3 separate regions of the Homo sapiens genome follow, and regions 1 and 3 are each linked to region 2. Evidence: promoter capture Hi-C in 16 types of primary human blood cells and fetal thymus (Javierre and others, 2016). All regions are on one chromosome and are shown on one strand. Each heading gives the region's core, a stretch centred on a gene start or on the middle of the fragment in contact. The rest is flanking DNA. Distances are from core to core; before and after follow the strand shown.

Region 1 (3,729 bases), core at 899-3,398, 570 kb before region 2:
AAAAAAAAAAGAAAGAAAGAAAAAAGAAACTAAACATCTTACCTTATAATTCAGCAGTTGCACTCCTTGATCTTTACCCAAAGGGTTAAAAACTTATGTCTACACAAAACCCTGCACACCAATGTTTATAGCAGCTTTAGTAATTGTCAAAAACTGGAAGCCACCAAGGTGTCTCTCAGTAGGTGAATGAATAGACAAACTGTAGTGTACATTTGCAATGGAATATTATACAGCAATGAAAAAGAGTGAGCCATCAAGCCATGAAGCGATAGTGAGGAAACGTTAGGTGCACATTACCAAGTGAAAGACACTGATCTGAAGAGTCTGCCTACTGTGTGACTCCAACCAAGTGACATCCTGGAAAAGGTAAAACTATGGAGATAATTAAAAGGTCAGGAGGCTGGGCGTGGTGGCTCATGCCTGTCATCCCAGCAGGCGCGGTGGCTCATGCCATTATCCCAGCAGGCACGGTGGCTCATGCCGCCATCCCAGCAGGCGCGGTGGCTCATGCCGTCATCCCAGCAGGCGCGGTGGCTCATGCCTGTCATCCCAGCACTTTGGGAGGCCGAGGCAGGTGGATGTTTGAGCCCAGGAGTTCAAGACCAGGTTGGACAATATAGTGGGGCCCCATCTCAAACAAAACAAAACAAAACAAAAAAAACCCAAAAATTAACCATGTGTGGTGGCACACCCCTGTAGCGTAGACCTAGCTATTTGAGAAAGGCTAAGGCAGGAGGATTGCTTGAGTCCAGGAGGCAGAGGTTTCAGTGAGCCAAGATCATGCCTCTGCACTCCAGTCTAGGAGTCAGAGCAGACCCTCTCTCCAAAAAAAGAAAATGGTCAGGTGTTGTCAGAAGGTTAGGACAAGGGGGAAAGGAAAGGATAGGAGAAGCACAGTGGGCTTTAGGGCCAGAAAACGACTTTGTGTGACACTGTGATGGTCAAGGGGGAAAGAAATGGATATGAGAAGCACAGCGGGCTTTAGGGCCGGAAAAGGACACTGTGATGGTCTGCACATGAGATTAGCATTTGACAGACCCAGAGAAGGGCCCATCATGAGTGACCCCTGATGTGAACCAAGTGAACTCTCCTGTAAATAATCACATAACAGCAGGACGGCACCACACAGCTGGAATCGGCTATAGGGTGTGCACCAACTCACCTGCTGAAAAAAGAAAAATAAACAGCAAAATAAAGTAGAGATATTCATATGCTAATACGTTTAATTTTATTTTACTTTTTTGAGACAGGGTCTGCTCTGTCACCTGGGCTGGAGTGCAGTGGTGCCATCAGGGCTCACTGCAGCCTCAACTTCCTGGGCTCAAGTGATCCTCCTGCTTTGGCCTCCCAAGATGCTAGTATTACAGGCATGCTCCACCATGCCCAGCTAATTCTGTAATTTTCTTTGTAGAGACAGTGTATTAGACTGTTCTCATATTGCTATAAAGAAATACCTGAGACTGGGTTATTTATAAAGAAAAGAGCTTTAATTGGCTCACGGTTCTGCAGGCTGCACAGGAAGCTTGGCTCTGGCATCAGCTTCTGGGGAGGCCTTGGGAGCTCGCACTCATGGTGGGAGGCGAGCAGGGAGCAGGCGCCGCAACAGGGCAAAAGCAGGAGCAAGAGAGTGAGGGGTGGGGGTGCCACACACTTCTACACACCCAGTTCTCCTGTGAACTCAGAGCAGGGAGCTCAGTTGTCGCCAAGGGGATGGCCCCAGCCATTCTTGAGGGAGTCGCCCCCATGACCTCCACCTCCCATCAGGTCCCACCTCCAGCACCAGGGATCACATTCCAACATGAGATTTGGGCAGGGACCAATATCCAAGCTATATCAGACAGGGCTCACTCTGCTGCCCAGCCTGTCTTGAACTCCTGGCATCTCGGCCTCCCAAAGTGCAGACAGTACAGGTGTGACCCACCGCGCCCAGCCTGTGACTGCATTTTACTCCAGTATATGACTATTCTGTGGCTGTCTTCAGCCAGCTGTGTTCTCAGTTAATGGACATTTAGGTAGAGTCACCACTTTTTCACTATGGTGGAATCTCTTCTAACTTGCACGAATTCAACTGAAGGTGTGCAAACCCCCCCACCCAAGAAAAAGGGAGCACAACAACCCGTTTAAGACTGTAAAGTCGGCCAGGCACGGTGGCTCACGCCTGTAATTCCAGCACTTTGGGAGGCCGAGGCGGGCGGATCACGAGGTCAGGAGTTCGAGACCATCCTGGCTAACACGGTGAAACCCCGTCTCTACTAAAAAAAAAAAATACAAAAAATTAGCATGGTGTGCTAATTTAACAAAAAGTTAGGCGTGGTTGTGGGCGCCTGTAGTCCCAGCTACTTGGGAGGCTGAGGCAGGAGAATGTGTGAACCCGGGAGGTGGAGCTTGCAGTGAGCCTAGATTGCGCCACTGCACTCCAGCCTGGGTGAGAGAGTGAGACTCCGTCTAAAAAAAAAAAAAAAAGACTATAAAGCCGGTCAGGCACGGGGCTTATGTCTGTAATCCCAGCACTTTGCGAGGCCAAGGCGGGAGGATTGCTTGAGCCCAGGAGTTCGAGACCAGCCTGGGCAACATAGGGAGACCCCGTTCTCTGCAAAAAAGTTAAAACAAACAAAACCAAACTGTAAAGCCAGTGAGTCTGGCTGCTCCTGGCCTCTGTGGGTATATGGGGCTCGTGAGGCATGTCGGGAGCAAGGCTGTGGTTTGCCATACGACTCATTTTCTATGTTTGCTTTTATATGATAGAAATCATACTGTTTTTCAATTAAGCTTTATTTTTTATCTAATGATGCAAACAGTTCTTTTTTTTTTTTTTTTTTTTGAGTCAGAGTCTTGCTCTGTTGCCCAAGCTGGAGTGCAGTAGCGCCATCTCGGTTCACTGCAACCTCTGCCTCCTGGGTTCAAGAGATTCTTCTGACTCAGCATCCTGAGCAGCTTGGGATTACAGGCGTACGTCACCACACTGGGCTAATTTTTGTATTTTTAGTAGAGATGGGGTTTCGCCACGTTGGCCAGGCTGGTCTCGAACTCCTGACCTTAGGTGATCCACCTGCTTCAGCCTTCCAAAGTGCTGGGATTACAGGCATGAGCCACTGCACCTGGCCTCAAATTCGTTTTTATGTTTGTTTTTTCTTTCTTTCTTTTTTTTTTTTTTGATACAGGGTCTCACTCTGTTGCCCAGGCTGGAGTGCAGTGCCACGATCTCGGCTCACTGCAACCTCCGCCTCCCAGGTTCAGGCGATTCTCCTGCCTCAGCCTCCCGAGTAGCCGGAATTACAAGCATGTGCCACCATGCCTGGCTAATTTTTGTATTTTTAGTAGAGACAAGGTTTCACCATGTCTGCCAGGCTGGTCTCGAACTCCTGACCTCAGATGATCCACCCGTCTTGGCCTCCCAAAGTGCTGGGATTACAGGCGTGAGCCACCACGCCTGGCCCTATGTTAGTGTTTTCCTTATAGAAATCTTATTTTTTTCAATTAAACTTTATTTTCTATCTAATGATGCAAACAATTTTTTAAAGCAAAATAATAAGATCTTTAATGGAAAACAGCATTCCCTTCAGCAGGCTCTCCATCTGCATGTCTCATTCTTGATACAGGGACCACCTTTAACTCGTAGAGCTATTTATTCTGACTATTTATGTATTTGTTTTCTTTTTCTTTCTTTCTTTTTTTTTTTTTTTTTTGAGACAGAATCTTGCTGTGTTGCCCAGGCTGGAGGGCAGTTGA
Region 2 (3,676 bases), core at 675-3,174:
CCACTGCTATAAAGAACTTCTGGCTGGGTGCGGTGGCTCACGCCTGTAATCCCAGCACTTTGGGAGGCCGAGGTGGGTGGATCACCTGATGTCAGGAGTTCGAGACCATCATGGCCAACATGGTGAAACCCCATCTCTACCAAAAATACAAAAATTAGCTGGCAGTGGTGGCAGGCACCTGTAATCCCAGCTACTCGGGAGACTGAGGCACGAGAATCGCTTGAACCCAGGAGGCGCAGGTTGCAGTGAGCCGAGATGGTGCCACTGCACTCCAGCCTGGGTGACAGAGCAAGACTCTGTCTGAAAAAAAAAAAAAAAAACTTACTTGAGACTGGGTGATTTCTAAAGGAAAGAGTTTTCATTGACTCAGAGTTCTGCATGGCTGGGGAGGCCTCAGGAAACTTACAGTCATGGCTGAAGGGGAAGCAGGCACCTTCTTCACATGGTGGCAGGAGAGAGAGAGCAAGAGCAAGCGAAGGGGGAAGAGCCCCTTATAAAACCATCAGATCCCATGAGAACTCACTAGCTATCATGAGAACAGCATGGAGGAAACCGCCTCATGATCCAATCGCCTCCCTCCTTCAACACCTGGGGATTACAATTCGAGGTGAGATTTGGGTGGGGACACAGCCTCACCACATCATAGCCATTCTGCCCTCCCTGCCCTGCCCTGCCCTGCCTCCAGGTCTGCCTCCAGACCTGGAGTGTTTCTGAGAGTGGACCCAGCACAGGGAGGAGGTGGCTCAGGACACTCAACTCCTGGTCCAGCTCCCACTCATAGCTGGGGTCCTGGCCGGTGACTCCATCTCCCTTTCTGCTGTCTCCCTGTCTATAAGACAAGGGGCTGGGCCAGCCATCTCAAGGTCCCCTCCAGTTCCATCTTCCCAGGGCTGAGCAGGTCCTGGGCCTTGGCGTCACAGAGCCCAGCTCACAGGCCCACCCGGGAGAGGTATCGGGATGTGTCTTTGCCACATCATAAGTTAGGCAGAAAGATGTGTGGGACGTGGCCCTGCCCCCGGTCAGGACGGTGGACACATGCAAACGCCGCACAGACGCACCCTGCCCTGACACCGCCCGGAGCACCTGGGTGGCTTCCTGAATGGCGAGGCATGGTGGGCACTCATGGGCCTGCCGTGCACCCCACCTGCAGGGCACGTGCCCAGCAGACAGCAAGGGCTGAATGACAGGTGACAGGACGGCCGCCAGGCAGGCGAAGGTGGGGCCAAAGGCAAGGGTGGCTGCTCGGCTGCAGGGCACGGACACTCAGCCTCTATTTCCTCCTGGGGTGGCGAGGGGGGGCGAGGGAGGGGCGAGGGAGGGGCGAGGGGGGGCGAGGGAGGGGTGAGGGAGGGGTGAGGGACGGTCAGACCGGATGTGGCTGTGCTTCAGACCGCGCGGGAAGTCCTGGGATGGCGTGGAGCCCGCTTCAGCTGAAGGGACAGAGGGAGAGGCAGGGGCCAGACAGCGCCAACCACCTGAGACCCAGGCAAGAGACAGTATGGTGGGTGGGGGTACTGCCCAGTAAGGGCTGGGGGAGAGGACTGAGGAAACCCTCCCTCCATCAACGTGCCTGGGAGCCCTGCCAGGTGAGAGCCCTGTTGTTCCTGGATGACTGTGGACCGCTCACTCCGGCCCCTCAGCCCCTACCCAGCCTGCCCCCAGGAGCAGCACGGCTGGGCACCAGCATCTCTCCAGCTGGCAGTTGCCCCACTGGGATCCCCCAAATGCCCTGCAAGCCAAGGTGTGCAAGCCCTGCACACTGAGGGCTGGAGGGCAGCCCCCGTGCTGTGTTCCAGATGGAGGGAGGGGTGGGGAGGGGGGAGCTACACTGGGGAGGGCTGCGCCGGTCACTGCCGAGGAGGGAAAGCCTCAACATCACCCCTCTTACCCCCCATCTCCCGCAGCCTCCCAGCAAGGTTGTGGCCCGCAGCGGACGCTCCCCACGAGGTAGAGCCCCGTTTCCACACCTGGAGCAGCTGCACCTGGAGGTGGGGCTCATCTCCAGACCTGGAGCAGCTGCCTGCCCCAGGGCAGAAGCCACTGCCCGCAGCTAGGTGAGGCCATGTGCCCAGTCCTGGTCAATGGACTGAGCATGAGGGGATGTGTGCCCAGCAGCAGGGACTACTGTGCACTGAAGGCCAGGGCCGCTGGATTGGGACAAATAAATACAGCAGGTCCTCAAATCCCATCGTTTCATTCTAGGGAGCATTGAGGAGGTCTCCCCAGGTCCGCGCGGGTTTTCTCCAGGTCCTCCAGTTTCCTCCCACATCCCAAGTATACACCTCAGCCTCACGGCATGTCTACATGGGCCTAGTCCGAGTGAGTGTGGGTGTCCCATGGAGGCCTGTCCTATCCAGGGCGGGTGCCCACCTTGGCACTGAGCCTCCAGGATGGGCCCTGGTCACCTGCCACTCTGAACTGGAGAAAGCAAGTTGGAAAATGAATGAATACATGAATATAAATTATCAAATAAAAATTATAAAGCCTACGGTAATCACACAAACGCATGACAACAAACGCCGCGTGTGAGGGTGCTCAAGGAGCCGCCATACTCACGGTCGCTTGTCTTTCAGCTGTGCGGTGGGAGGAGGTGCTCCCAAGAGCGTGTGCTTTGCAGACATTGATTCCGTGATTTCACCACCACCACTACCACCGCCGTCACTCACAGACATCCCAAATATTGGGTAGATCATGATCTCACTTGTTTGTATTAATCTTCCTTATGTAGGTGTAGCTACCTCTACATGTAGGGATAGTTTACATTTATTTCAATGTTTAATATTAGAAGTGTTTGGGTCTTTAGAAATTTGGTGGTGTTTTTTGTTTTTTTGTGGGGTTTTTTTGGAAATAGGGTTTTGTTCCGTCGCCCAGGCTGGAGTGTGGTGGTGTGATCACAGCTCACCGCAACCTTAGCCTCTGAGGCTCAAGCAATCCTCCCACCTCAGCCTCCTAAGTAGCTGGGACCACAGGCACACACCACCTTTCCTGGCTAATTTGGGGGGCATTTTTTGTAGAGATGGGGTTTCATCATGTCGCCCAGGCTGGTTTTGAACTCCTTGCCTCAAGAGATCTGCCACCTCAGCCTCCCGAAGTGCTGGGATTACAGGTGTGAGCCACCACACCTGTTCTGGTGATGTTTTGAGAGCAGAAATATGCCTCTTTTTTTTTTTTGAGACAGAGTTTCACACTTATTGCCCAGGCTGGAGTGCGGTGGCGTGATCTCGGCTCACTGCAACCTCCACCTCCCAGGTTCAAGCGATTCTCCTGCCTCAGCCTCCCGAGTAGCTGGGATTACAGGCATGCACCACCACACCCAGCTACTTTTGTATTTTTAGTATTTCTCCATGTTGGTCAGGCTGGTCTTGAACTCCCAACCTCAGGTGATCTGCCCGCTTTGGCCTTCCAAAGTGCTGGGATTACTGGTGTGAGCCACCGCACCCAGCCTATGACATAGGAATTTAACTCTTGTTTATATCAACTAGCCTATGGTAAAATTGGTTTCATTATATGTTGTCTTGCTTAAAGTCACAGTTTCCAGGAAGCTGTGATGAAATTGAGGACTTACTGTATGCCATTATCTGTTTAAAAGAAATGATAAGTACCAACCCATGGCCCCTGTTTCCATGGGACCTAAGATGAAATGCCCAAGGTAAAGGCGATGGCTTCCATCTCCCAG
Region 3 (3,697 bases), core at 523-3,022, 540 kb before region 2:
CGGCTCCTAGAGTGTGATCAGACAGTTGTTGTCACCAATGACAGCAAGCCACACGAGGCCCTCCATGAATTCCAGGTCATCATGTCACTATGGTCAGAGTGACATCAACACTGACAGCTGAATTAACTAACACTTTTGGCATAGCCATATGGGAGGGAGGGGAGAGGTAAAGAATTAACCCTATCTATCTCAGCAGCACACCAGCAGAAGACACCTAAATAGCAGATTCACATCAGTTTCTGGTTGGTTCATTTTAGACATGAATAGACTTCACATCATTCTAAAGCAGCTAAGAGATGAGTATGGCTGCACTGGAAGAATGGAACCTGAGGGGTGGGACTGCTGTTTCCATTAAGCTTTTCAGTTTACATGTGTCTATTACATTGCTATACACAAAAGCATTAAAGGACAAAAAAAGAAGAAAGAAAAAAGATAAGCATGCAGATGGCTTGTCCCACACCAGGAGATGAGAACTAAAGGAATGATGATGTCAGAACCCTCTCCCCAGTTACTGACTTCTTGATGAGTTTGGAGAGGCGCTTCCTGTTGAAGTGGGGCGTGTTCTTCCTGCTGGTCATTTCCAGGAGTCGATCAGCAACAGCCTTATAGTCAAACTAGGCAGGAAGAGAAACTAAACATAAGTCTGCAGCCAAACAACACTGCCTGACTTGGCCATTTACATCTGCTAGTAAGAGAAACCCTTACTGAAGCATTTGGCAACAGATAGGCTAAACAAGCTTGTGCTGGGACTTGGCAACCAGGAGCACAAGCACTACCTTTGAAAAATGCATGTTCAGGCCGGGCGCGGTGGCTCATGCCTGTAATCCCAGCACTTTGGGAGGCTGAGGCGGGTGGATCACAAGGTCAGGACATCGAGACCATCCTGGCTAACACGGCAAAACCCCGTCTCTACTAAAAATACAAAATATTAGCCGGGCGTGATGGCGGGCGCCTGTAGTCCCAGCTACTCGGGAGGCTGAGGCAGGAGAATGGCGTGAACTCAGGAGGCAGAGCTTGCAGTGAGCCGAGATCGAGCCACCGCACTCCAGCCTGGGAGACAGAGTGCGACTCTGTCTCAAAAAAAAAAAAAATTATTCTTGGGAAAAGCTGGGTAAGCAATTCTTAAAAAAAAAAAATTGTGATAGAGTACCCACAACAAAATTTACCTGGGTGTGCTTTTTTTTTTTTTTTTTTGAGCCAGAGTCTGTCACCCAGGCTGGAGTGCAGTGGCATGATCTCAGTTCACTGCAACCTCCACCTCCCGGGTTCAAATGATTTTCCTGCCTCAGCCTCCCGAGTAGCTGGGATTACAGGCGTGCGCCACGGTGTCGGGCTAATTTTTGTATTTTTAGTAGAGACGGGTTTCACTGTGTTGGCCAGGCTGGTCTCGAACTCTTGACCTCAGGTGATCTGCCCGCCTGGGCCTCCCAAAGTGCTGGGATTACAGGCGTGAGCTTGTAATTAAATTTTAAATTTAATCTAGATTTGCAATCTGTACTTGGCAAACTTTTTTTTATTTGAAAAGTGCCACTAGAGCTGGCTCTGTGGTAGAGAACAGAGGAGAGCTTAGCCATTCAAAATAAGTGCTACTATCTCTTTCAAAACTCCATCATATTTACATTTCCTTGTCTCCAATAAGGTTATTCTTCAGAAGGTGACATTTAGTGACTGAAGGGATTAAAAAGGAGTTTACGCTTCAGGCCTTATAGCTTAACTAGCTGTGACCCTAATTCTCTAGTCAGGCTACTCCACAGCAAATCTATATTCTATAAAAAGCAACAACTGCTACCCACCTGGAGAAGGGGCCCTGTGTCCTCAAAGGTTCCACAGTCATCTCTTCCTCTTTCATCACTGAGTCCATCTTTTCTGGAATGGTTTTTGCCCAGTGCTGTCAAAATATACCCAAAGACCAAATTATTGACATATCAAATACACAGAAGTGACTACTTCCACAGGAGCCACTGTCTAATTAGGTGTCTCTTAGCAAAAAAGAAGGTTGGGCACGGTGGCTCACGCCTGTAATTCTAGCACTTTGGGAGGCTGAGGTGGGTGGATCACTTGAGGCCAGGAATTCTAGATCAGCCTGGGCAACATGGCGAAACCCCGTCTCCACTAAAAATACAAAAATTAGCTGGGCGTGGTTGCGGGTGCCTGTAATCCCAGCTACTTGGGAGGCTGAGGCATGAGAATCGCTTGAACCCAGGAGGCAGAGGTTGCAGTGAGCCAAGATCATGCCACTGCACTCCAGCCCGGGCGACAACGAGACTCCGTCTCAAAAAAAGAAAAAATGAAAGAAAATTTATTTAAGGAGAAAAACTCTGCAAAGCCATTTATAATTTCCCAGGACATTTTGATTGTTCAGGCTATGGGAATGAAGGTAAGTCTGGGAAAAAGCACATGTTTTGCCTTTTGTACCCATAAAACCCCAATTCCCTGCTGCCTTCGATGATTTCCTCCCCCACACGTGGTCCCGTTAGGACGAAGGCTGCGGTGCATGGGAAGCTCCTGTCCAGGGACGCAGGCAAGCGGATGGGACACGGCATCGCCCTGGACCACCAGGGGTAGGAGCATGGACGCAGGAATCCGGCCCTAGTCTCAGGTCAGTTTAGGACCTTGGTGAGAACCTGTCACAGCAGTACAGTCACTTTTCACGAGCATGCTTCAGGAAGCACAAGTCAATATTAATGCAACTTTTAGCACTTAAAAAATTCAGAGTGTTACAGCCTATGAAGAAGCAGATTAAACAGACTCAGGAGAACTCAAAATTATTTTAAACGTGTACTGTTTCTGGAACCCTCTAAGCTTATTAGTGGTGCGACATCAGGGCAAGGCCTGGGGAGGATGGGGCAGGCGCAGCACACGTTTCATGAACGCAACTGGGAGGGAACGTCCGGAACTGCACTTGGAAGAGAGTCTGTGTCCAGGTTAGGCGACAGAAATGTGGGGAGCGGAGGGACCCAGAGACTACTCCCATGACCACATAAAATTTGCTCCAGGTCCTTAGTCAACTCTGTTATCTACACCAAATTTAAAATCAGACTATTTCTTTTTTTCGTTTTGTTTTAGAGATGGGGGTCTCATTATGTTGCCCAAGCTGGTCTCAAACTCCTGGGCTCAAGTGATCTTCCCATCTTGGCCTTCCAAAGTACTAGGATTATAGGCATGAGTCTCCACACCTAGACTAGACTATTTCTTTTATTCTTTCTTTTTTGAGACAGGGTCGCTGGTAGCTCTGTTGCCCAGGACGCAGTGCAGTGACACGATCATGATTCACGGCAGCCTCACCCTCCCAGGTTCAACTGATTCTCCCAGCTCAGCCTCCTGAGTAGCTGAGACCACAGGCATGTGCCATCACGCTTGGCTAATTTTAAAATTTTTGTAAAGTCAAGGTCTTGTTATGTTGCCCAAGCTGGTCTCCAACTCCTAGGCTCAAGTGATCCTCCCACCTCAGGCTCCCAAAGTGATGGGATTACAGGTGTGAGCCACCGTGCCTGGCCAGAGTATTTTTTCTTTCTTTTAAAGATTCTTGGCCGGGCATGGTGGCTCACGCCTGTCTGTAATTCCAAGACTTTGGGAGGCCCAGGCGGGCGGATCAACTGAGGTCGGGAGTTCGAGACCAGCCTGACCAAAAGATAGATACAAATTTTGCTAAGCATGGTGGTGCATGCCTGTAATCCCAGCTACTTGGGAGGCTGAG

Evidence for each region. The method cuts DNA at HindIII sites, captures the fragments that hold promoters and counts their contacts. A CHiCAGO score of 5 or more calls a contact.
Region 1: a fragment that was not itself captured here is called in contact with the fragment with the promoter of FRGCA in region 2 in 2 of 17 cell types (M1 macrophages and naive CD4 T cells); the score reaches 5.1 in M1 macrophages.
Region 3: a fragment that was not itself captured here is called in contact with the fragment with the promoter of FRGCA in region 2 in 5 of 17 cell types (naive CD4 T cells, M1 macrophages, M0 macrophages and 2 more); the score reaches 6.3 in naive CD4 T cells.

What each region holds. Positions count from the first base shown.
Region 1 is chr21:43,705,685-43,709,413 of GRCh38, reverse strand. No RefSeq gene overlaps it. Among named protein-coding and RNA genes, the nearest start is that of PDXK, 12 kb to the left of the region's middle. RefSeq lists an enhancer at 1,653-2,186. The HindIII fragment of the contact is 1,247 bases long and covers 1,525-2,771 here.
Region 2 is chr21:43,139,340-43,143,015 of GRCh38, reverse strand. It overlaps FRGCA (FOXM1-regulated, gastric cancer associated), which reads left to right and starts at 1,924. Exons shown (of 2, transcript NR_133677.1): 1 at 1,924-2,054; 2 at 2,203-2,493. All of the region lies in intron 4 of LOC101928369 (a long non-coding RNA gene), which reads right to left. RefSeq lists enhancers at 458-993, 994-1,531. The HindIII fragment of the contact is 22,159 bases long and covers 1-3,676 here.
Region 3 is chr21:43,681,470-43,685,166 of GRCh38, reverse strand. RRP1B (ribosomal RNA processing 1B) reads right to left here. Exons shown (of 16, transcript NM_015056.3): 9 at 1,794-1,888; 10 at 517-614. Among named protein-coding and RNA genes, the nearest start is that of RRP1B, 24 kb to the right of the region's middle. The HindIII fragment of the contact is 2,065 bases long and covers 740-2,804 here.